Regions from separate parts of the Homo sapiens genome. Here region 2 is linked to region 1. Evidence: promoter capture Hi-C in 16 types of primary human blood cells and fetal thymus (Javierre and others, 2016). All regions are on one chromosome and are shown on one strand. The core of a region is centred on a gene start or on the middle of the fragment in contact, and the rest is flanking DNA. Distances in the headings are between cores, read along the strand shown. Region 1 holds the start of EIF2B5 (eukaryotic translation initiation factor 2B subunit epsilon). Region 2 holds the start of VWA5B2 (von Willebrand factor A domain containing 5B2).

Region 1 (3,658 bases), core at 391-2,890:
CTATTAAAATCATATCCATATAGCTACCAGTCTACAGAATTTTAAGACCTGGATTTACCATAAGCACAAATGCCTTTCGGCAGCGGATTCACCACTTCCCAACTTCCCAAGGTTGCGGGAATCATTTAAAATAAATTCTGCAATCGGACCTACTTTCCATACCCAAACACCCCCCCAAGAGTGTGTGTGTGTGTGTGTTTGTGTGTGTGTGTGTGTGTCCTATTTAATTCCTTCTCCCCTCCCCCATTTCTACCTCTGGATTTGTAGGGCAGTTGAACATTCCTTTTCTACAACGTGCATTCATTTAATGGAAAACTTTTACTTAGTTGGCTTCAGCCTTTCCTTTTCTAGGATAAATCAAATGGTTTTCGTTCCGCACCCTAACGAGGCAAGAAATGACAAACTCCTCGGTCCCCCTAGGCGGGCGCCGGAGCACGACGGGTCAAGTCGGAATCGCCACGTGGAAACAGCTCTCAGCATCGCGAACTCCAAATCCCGACGTGCAACGCGGGGCGGGATGGGAACAGTTTGCAGGAACTGCAGAAGCCTGTGGCGTGGAACCTGGACAGGTCCCGTGCAGAAAGGGCGCTATGCCTTACAGAAAAGTTCCTTGCCTCCCAAATGACGCCCAGCCTTCCTGCCCCGTTCCACCGCTTTCCCACGGCCCCGCCCCTCTACAGAGTTGGTTTATTCCCCGCAGCCACCGCTTCTTTCCCCAAAGAGAAAAAGGTGCTGCTGCGCCTTTTCAAGCCTTGGACCTTTACGCCCGCACTTTCCTCTGCCCAGAAAGCTTACTGCTTAACTCCAGTACAACTTACTGGTGCGCCTGGATCCACCCCCGTCTCCACTCTGCTTAAGACACAGGAGGCTGATAGGCTGGAAGAATGAATAGATGACATAAAATAGTCATTGTTATCCCCACATAACTTGGCAGCAAGATTGTGGAACTCTGCAGTCAGACAGATCGGGTTCCAATACCAGTTCTTCCACTTACTAGCTGGGTAAACTTCCTTCATCCTTCTGAGAGTTCAAGAAACGTTTGCTGAACGAATGAATAAGATGTTTTGCAGAGATAATGCTTGTATCGTGCCTGGCCCAAAATCAGCGCTCAATGGAATTACTGGTCTCCCTACTATATGCCTGCCACCTTCTCTATTTATGCAGGTTCTGAGTTCCTCGCAGCGGGGGAACATCTGGCTCGGTTCTATCTCCCCAAGGCGCTGGGTTCCCAGAAGTTTCTAGAATGAATACGGAGGGCTACATATTTCACATGCGCGGGGCGGGGAAACTGCTGGGCGATTACAGATTCCCGATGGAGCTGGCCCCTTCGTGGCGACCACAAGTCCTATCACGCCACAAGAATCTCGGCTTGTTCACCTACAAATGAAGGCCGACGATACTTGCAGACCGAGTCTGACATCTATGGGACCCCACTCCTACCCTGCGCCTCAGGGGCCGGGACAACCGTGACCCGTACCGACTCCTCGCGCCTCCGGGATCAACCTCAGACCCCTGTGGGCTCCCGGGGAAGACGCATGCGCACTGCTCCCTCCTCGTCTCCTTCCCTTCGTTAATTAGTCCATCGCATTTCAAGTGCTGGATCCTTTTTGTCCCCTACTGCGTGCGGTGGCAGCTTCCTTGCGGAAGTGGTGACCGTGAGAGAAGAAGATGGCGGCCCCTGTAGTGGCGCCGCCTGGTGTGGTGGTTAGTCGGGCTAACAAGCGCAGCGGCGCGGGGCCGGGAGGCAGCGGTGGCGGGGGAGCCAGAGGGGCGGAGGAGGAACCGCCGCCGCCCCTACAAGCAGTTCTGGTGGCCGATAGCTTCGATCGCCGCTTCTTCCCCATCTCCAAGGACCAGCCTCGGGTGAGCGCCGCGCACGCGAGCAGCCAGAGGGCAGGAAGGGTGGCAGGGCTGGAGCAAGTTCTCATTTCGGCTAACTACAACAGCATGCCCTTGAAGGACCTGCGTCTATGCTGTTATCCTAAAACCGGATGCAGAGGGACTGTCTAAACCCTGATGACTGCTGACCAAGTTAGTGGCCGGCAGATTTGGGCATTCGTAATGCTGTCCACCTCGGGTTTGAAAGGAATGAAGAGAGCTAAATGTAGAAACAGCGCTTGAGAGAAGCCTTCACGCGGGGATTCAGTGCCCCTAGAAGAGGCTGCGCCGCTTTTAACCTTGCCGATGACGGTTGCTTAGGTGAAAAGAAACGACCTTTTGCCTCTGAAAGGGCGGTAATATGCCTTAAAAAGAGCGGGCTAGATCTCAGGCAGTGTATTTTTTTTTTCCTTCCAGGTTCTAATGATAGCCGGTGCTATCTGTCGAAAGGACAAAATGGGTTTAGTGGTTGATTGCCATCAGCCCCCGAGTTGTCTAGACAATGGGGTATTGGACTCAGCTGGGTCGTTCAGCAGTCAGTTCAGAAAGAGGGAACTGCATTGGATTTAAGGAAAATCCTCTCTAATTCCCTCGAAAAAGCCTAATGGCTGTTCATTTTTGACAAGTGACGGGAGATGGCTAACCTCTGACACTTAGAAAGGGATCAAGGAAGGAAATCTTATGGGGAAGAAGGCCTTAGCAATGCTTAAATTTATGGAAATATGATTGATTTCCAGTATTATCCTTTGCCAGCAGTGAACTGCCATTCTGTCACAGCTCTGTGTCTGATACAAGGCACATAGATTCTGTACTTACCATCCCCAAATTGCAATGTCTCAGACTCAGGCTTAGAGCATGGCATGAACATCAAAGGCAGGAACCTGTTTATCTTTGAATTGGAAAGATACAGCAAAATTACACTGTTTGGAAATACGAATAGAGGAGTGAAAATTGTTGCAGTGGGGTACCCAAAGGGATTCGAGACCTCAAGTTTTTTTTCATCTTGTATCCTTCAGGTCCTCTTGCCCCTGGCCAATGTGGCATTAATTGACTACACTCTGGAATTCCTGACTGCCACAGGTGTACAGGAAACATTTGTCTTTTGTTGCTGGAAAGCTGCTCAAATCAAAGAACATTTACTGTAAGGCCCTGCAACTTTTCTTTCCATGTTTCGCCATCTTTTTCCAGTTTTTTCAGGATGAATGTAACTAAGGGGAAATGTGAGAGGGGAAAAATGTGTCTACTTAGATGTCATTGTAAGTTCTAAGGGTATTTTCTACACTTATCAGGAGGTGAGCAGCTGAAACTTTGTATCTGTCTGTCTTGGGTTTTCTGTGACAAAGATTAAAGAATAAACTTGGGTTTTTTCTGAATCTCATTATAAAGTTTGGTGCCAGTGGACTTTGCTTTTATTTAATGGCTTCAGTATGGAAGTTACAATGATAACATCTTTGTTTTCCCACTGAGTTTCTAAATCTTGTTTGTTCTCACCTTCAAGGATATAAATGAGCTCCTTGTCATCTTTGTATTCCCACTGCCTAGCTCAGTCCCAAGCATATAGTGAGCACTTACATGTTTGTTGAAATCTTGAAAACTAGGGAATCGCATTGCTTATGGAAGTCCAGGATGTAAAGACTAGGACATTAGCATGGTCTCCATCAGACAGTTCCTAAATGTTATATGGATTGCAGAAGGGGAAAGCTGACGTGAAGCGTGTTCCCAGGCTACTTTGTGTACCCTAGGCTTCAGCAGGATTTTGAGTTCAAATTGATGTTTAGGG
Region 2 (5,729 bases), core at 1,301-3,800, 94 kb after region 1:
TTGTCTGCCCTTTTCACTAAAGTGTGAGACTCTCCTAGGCAGAAGCTAAGTCTTTTCAGCTCAATATCCTCCTATGGGCCAGGCGCAGTGGCTCATGCCTATAATCCTAGCACTTTGGGAGGCTGAGGCAGGCAGATTGCCTGAGCTCAGGAGTTCAAGACCAGCCTGGACAACATGGTGAAACCCTGTCTCTACTAAAAATCCAAAAAATTACCCAGGCATGCTGGTGCTCGCCTGTAATCCCAGCTTCTCAGGAGGCTGAGGCAGGAGAATCACTTGAACCTGGGAGGCAGATGTTGCATGCAGTGAGCCGAGATCGCTCCACTACACTCCAGCCTGGACGACAGGGCGAAACTCTGTCTCAAAAAATATATCTATATATCTATATCTATATGTATATCATCTATATCATCTATTCTCCTATGACTACCACGTAGCCCACCCCATGCTATCCCTCAGCCCGGCCTCAGATCTGGAATCTGGTTCCTGTGCTGTCCCCTTCTGCCCTTGGCTGTCATGCTGCTGCCTCACCACCAGAGGGCCTTCCAGCTGGGCCTCAGAGACCCTTCTTACTGCCCCACCCAAGGTGCCAGGCAGCCAGCACTGGCTCCCCACCCCCTGCCCCTCATCCTGCAGGGTGCCCTATGCTTTTTGTGGAGCCATTCACCTGTCTCTCCCTCCATTTGCCTCAGCTAAGGAGACCTTCCTAGCAAGATCTCAGGGTTGGTCCAGCTTTGCAGCAAAGTTTGACTTCTGCCAGTGTGTGTGTCTGGTCTCTGATAGGGATGCTATCTTCCTGGGAGGCTGTCTTACATCTAAGCTCTCCTCAGGACCAAACAGAAGGACCTCTTTTTCCATTTCCATGTGTCGGAGACCTCCCTAATGACTGCTATTTGCAACCTCATGTTTGTCCAAGGGCTACATGTAGCTCTTGGTTCATTTGTAGAAGGGGCAGAGCACAAGGTGCTTGTGGAAAGGTGGCCACTGCCTGGACCTTTGTGAGGCCCTCAGGGCCAGGGCTGGTCCTACCTGAGGCCCTGGATCACCTGGAGGGACCATCAGCCCATCCACTGTTTCTCCCTAGGCCTGAAAGAGGGACCCTCGTTCAGGATGAAGCTGAGAACAGACTCAGTAGAGAAAGGGGGAGAGAGGTGAATGGAACCATGACCCAGGTAGTATGGAAAGAGGGCTAGGACCCAGCTGGAGCTCCCTGTGTGTTGGGTACGTGTGACTGTGTCTGTGCTCCCTGTATCATTCCTGTGCATTTCCACCCATGAAATTCCCTGGGAAAAGGTCAAGCTCTCTCCACCATGCTAAGTAGGGTGAGCAAAGGAGATGGTTGGGGTTGAGGGCTCAGATACTCAAGGAGGCAGGGATCCCCCGGGGGGATGATCCCTGGTGATAGTGATTGAAATCAGAAGGAGAGAGTTAATGCGGAGGAGTGAGAACCATGGGCCCGACTCGAAAGCTCACTTCCTACTGGCTGTCCTCCATCCCCAGCTCTCCTCAAGCTCTCTCTGCAGAATCTCAGTATGGCATCTGCCAAAAAGCTTACATGGATGATCCCCAAACATGGTCATCTCCTCTCACTTCCCCAGGGCTCTCAGACTCTTCCTTGGGGGACCTGGGAGAGGTTTTCCGGACCTTCCTACTTTTTGACAGCATAACACTGTCAAGCACATGCAAAGTCTGCCAATAACAAGGGGCCCTCCTGACAAGCAGAGATGTTTTCTCTTCAGGGCTGCGGTGATGGGTGGGGGTCACTGCTATGAGGGGACGGTCTGCAGCCATAAGAAGGCTCTTCAGGCTAGAAGGCTTCACTCCCAAGGCCCGCACAGCTGAAGAGACCAAGGGGTTATAGGCTGAGGGCGCTATTGTGCACACCCTCCCACCCCAGCAGAAGTGGTTGGCACTGCAGCGATGCCAAGGCCGGCTGCTTGGGGGTGGGAGGAGGTCGCTGCAGTGATGAGGAATCCCTGCTTGGAGTGAGTGGTCACTGAAGTGGCTGCATGAACTAAAAGTACCTGCAGGGATGGGGGAGGTTTTCTGCAGTGATGAAGAGCACTTTGCAAAGGAAAGGGGCCAGCTTCTTGGGGGAAGAGTCCTGCGGTGACGGTGATGGGGGGCTGGGGGGTTCGCTGCAGTCAGGAGGGAGGGTCTCTGCAGCGATGGGAAGCAACCCAGGGCAGGGGGTGGGGTGGGCTGGGGAATGGGATGCCGTCGTGGTAATGGGATAGCTGGGGTCGCGGCAGTGTCGGTGGCACTTGCAGGACGCCTGATTCCTGAAGAATGGAAAGGGTGGGGTCTCTGAGGCCTCGGTCCTGCAGTGACGGGGATCCGTGCGGCGGCGGGGACGCGGTCCCTGCACTGCGGTGCCCAGTCTGGCTCGGGCTGCCGCGGCTGGCGCGGAGGCGGTACCGCGCCCGAAGGAGGGGGGAGCGCCAGCCCCGCCGCAGCAGCAGCAGGCGTGGCCAGGGCAGGCTGGAGGGGCGGCCTCTCGGAACGGGGGCGGGACCACCGCCGGCAGGGCCCGCGCCCCTGCCGGGACTCAGAGCCGCTGCAGCCACAGTCACGAACTGGCGGCCGGCAGGTGCCGGGACCGAGGGCCACCCGGAGCGCAGAGGCGGCACCACCCACACGGATCCCGTGGGCACCTAGAACTCCGCGGAGGGCGCGACGGTGAGGCTGAGACTGCCACAGGGAGCGGGGCGATCCCCAGAGCCAGCCCGCGGCATCCCCTGCGCGGGCCGCGGCCACTGCAGGTGCCCCCTCCTCCCACATCAGCTCTGCCGGGGTAGGGAGCGGTAACCTGGCGGCTCCCACGGACTCTCCCTGGCCCGACACCTCTCCCGGGCTTGCCTCCCAAAGACCCCCTCTTTTCGCTTTCCCAGCTCGTTCTTCCCACCCTTAACCCCTCCACTCCGGCCAGCACCCCCGTCGGATGAGGCACCAGGGAGAGAAAGACCAAGGCCCTTTCGGCGCCCCATCCACCCTGCCCCCGCGATCCCTCGCAGGGCCGGGGGCCTCCGGGGGGATTCGGGCCCTTTAAACCTCCGCCTTCCCGGAGCATCTTCCATCTCCACCCGCGCCGCTTCCGACAGCTGGCGGCCGCGGGGGGCCCCGGGGGGCCGGCAGGTACGGGGGTGGCTGCGAGGTTGGGAGTGGGCGGTGGAACAGCTGTGACCGCCCCCACCCCCGGGGGAGCCGCGGCGGGACTGCTGGGCGCCGAAGCGCGCGTTAATCATTAACCCTCCGCGGCCCGGCTGCCCAGGTAACGCGTGAGGATGCCCTCCTCGCCACCACGCCTGCCGCCCCCTTATCTCCCCCGCCACCTGTCGCCCTCAGGAGCTCCCGCTCGGCCTCGCGCCCCGGCAGGCCCCGTCCGGGTGCTGGAGTGAGACTCTCGCGCTGGCCTCTGGAGCGCGGGGTGGGCGTCCCGTCACCCTGCGCCCAGCTTCCCCGGCCCGTTCCCGCAGGGCCGGCCTCCCGGCGCCATGCCCGGCCTGTACTGCCCCTCCAGCTGGACGCCGCTGCCGCTCACGGACTCCTGGGTCCGGGCCTGCGCCAACGGCCCCTGCCTCAGCGTGCGGGCCCGGCTCACCTACCGCAACCCGCAGCCGCAGCCGGTGGACGGTGAGGCCCGGGTGGGGCGCGGGCGCGGCGGGGGGTGCGCCGGGCAGGGTCCGACGCCGCCTCCCGCCGCCCTCCCCAGGCGTGTTCGTGTACCCGCTGGCCGAGGCCGAGGTGGTGTCCGGCTTCGAGGCCGAGGCCGCCGGACGGCGCGTCTCCTTCCAGCTGCAGAGCCGGCGCCGCTCGCAGGCCGCCTGCTGCCGCGCTCTGGGCCCGGGGCTGGGGACCCCGACGCCCCGCCGCTGCGCGCAGGGTGAGTTCCGCGCGCCCGCACCCGCGCTCCTGAAAGCCGGGCGCAGCTCAGGCTCCCGCATCCGCTCGGCCTCCGCCCGTCCCCCGCCTTCCTCCGGGCACTGCCTTGTGCATTCATTGGCTCATCCTGGTATTTAGCAGTCGTGGGCTGGGCACCTGACCTGCGCCAGGTGCTGGGAGAACATGGCCCGGAGGTTCACAGCCTGGGAGACAGACACAGCAGGCAGCACAGGGCTTGCGGGGGCGCCAGCAACCCTTACAGCCCAGGAGACCGGTCTCTCTAGGGGGCTGCAAAGGGAGCCTTCTCCCCTGGTGGTCCCCTCCGGCCCCTTACTATTTTAGGCTGCACACCTCAATCCGGCCCCGCGTGGGCCAGTGAATCAAGTGTAGACTCCTGTGCCTAGCAGCCAAGGCCCTCGCTCTCACCCCATTCCATCCCTCTCCCAGCGACCCCATACACCAGGTACCGCTGCCGCTGGCCACACTGACTGACAGGTCCTTTCCCAACTCTCTGCTCTGTCTTTCCATCTTCTATTGAGCAAATTCCTACTTGTCCTTTAAGATCCACTAAACGTCATTCCTAGGGAAACCCTCCCTGACTCTCCCACAAATAGCTGCACTGTTTCCTGGCTCCCCAGCCTTTTGTGCCCCCTCGTTATGGCACTTACAGGGGGAGTCATTGTCACAGATCTGCCTGTCTGTCTCCCCGCTGGAGCATCTCCAAATCCCAGCACCTCACACAGAACCTGGCACTATGAGGCCCAGCGAGTGCCCGGGGAAGGGACAGAAGCCCAGCCCTGTGCTGTGTGCTGTGCTTGCACCTGGTTCTTTCATTGATTCATTCATACATGGCTTTGATTCCTGCCCAGGGGATTTGCAATCCAGGTAAGAAGAAGAGGAACAGAATCCAGTGGTGTTGAGAGCTGGCATAAGCCCAGCACGTTAGGGGCTTGTGGTTAGAGGCTAGAGTGAGCTCTGGGCTGAGGCCCCAGGAATGTTCCAGAAGGAGGTAGAGCCAGCATTTGACTGCAAGAAAGGGTAGGACTCAGTTAAGTGGAAGGTAGGGGCAACAGTATAAGCAAATGCTTATAAGTAGGTTACAGTGGGTAATGACAATAAAATATCTCATGTTTATAGTGATTTACAGTTTACAATCGCTAGTATCACCTCATTTGAATCCCAAGTAGTGGGTAATGCAGGCTTCTTCCTGTTATGGGGGATGGAAGGGGGATAATCCCCCTTCCTCCTGTTATGGGGGATGAAAGTCATAGCAGGGGTCACTGACTTATATGTTGGGTGCTTTGCATACATTGCCTCATTTGTTCCTCACCACAATCACAGAGTTATTATGATCCCCACTTTATGGATGAGGAAACAGGCTCCTCAGAACAAGAGAGCTGCCAAAGGACTCAATTAGAGGTCACCGAGCTGATATTTAAAACTTGATGCTGTGCTGTCTCCACTGTGTCGGTTGGCTGGGATGGAAGCCCCTTTCTTTCTTTCCTTCCATCTTTTTCTTCCCTTCAGTTATTCAGCAAGTATTTATTGAAAGGATGAACAATTGGTCATTGTGAGGAAGTGAGGTACAGTAGGGCTGTGAACGTGGGCTGGGGCCAGACCACGTCGGTGGTGTACACAGCTGCCACTGTACATGGCTGGTCATTATTCCTTTAGCAGCCCCACCAGTCCCCAAACAAACCTAGGAGCTAAATAAAACAGTGTGTGCAGTGTGCAAATGGAGCTTTATGTCCTCCAGCCTGCTTCCTGCTTCTCTATTCCTCCTGCCCGGGAGGAGTAGAGAATTCTGGAGCCACCTTAGTGGGCAATGGGGGAGCTCCTGATGGTTC

The links. Contacts are between HindIII fragments. The CHiCAGO score rates a contact against its expected background, and 5 or more counts as called.
Region 2: the fragment with the promoter of VWA5B2 here is called in contact with the fragment with the promoter of EIF2B5 in region 1 in 1 of 17 cell types (endothelial precursors); the score reaches 5.5 in endothelial precursors.

The regions. Positions count from the first base shown.
Region 1 is chr3:184,133,718-184,137,375 of GRCh38, forward strand. EIF2B5 (eukaryotic translation initiation factor 2B subunit epsilon) reads left to right here and starts at 1,641. Exons shown (of 16, transcript NM_003907.3): 1 at 1,641-1,863; 2 at 2,895-3,019. The coding sequence starts at 1,669. EIF2B5-DT (EIF2B5 divergent transcript) reads right to left here and starts at 1,544. Exons shown (of 2, transcript NR_183721.1): 1 at 819-1,544; 2 at 1-561. RefSeq lists enhancers at 30-671, 1,541-1,600, 1,921-1,990 and a silencer at 1,741-1,850. The HindIII fragment of the contact is 10,653 bases long and covers 789-3,658 here.
Region 2 is chr3:184,227,035-184,232,763 of GRCh38, forward strand. VWA5B2 (von Willebrand factor A domain containing 5B2) reads left to right here and starts at 2,551. Exons shown (of 20, transcript NM_001390846.1): 1 at 2,551-2,679; 2 at 3,346-3,633; 3 at 3,713-3,883. The coding sequence starts at 3,495. RefSeq lists a silencer at 2,319-2,658. The HindIII fragment of the contact is 8,832 bases long and covers 1,549-5,729 here.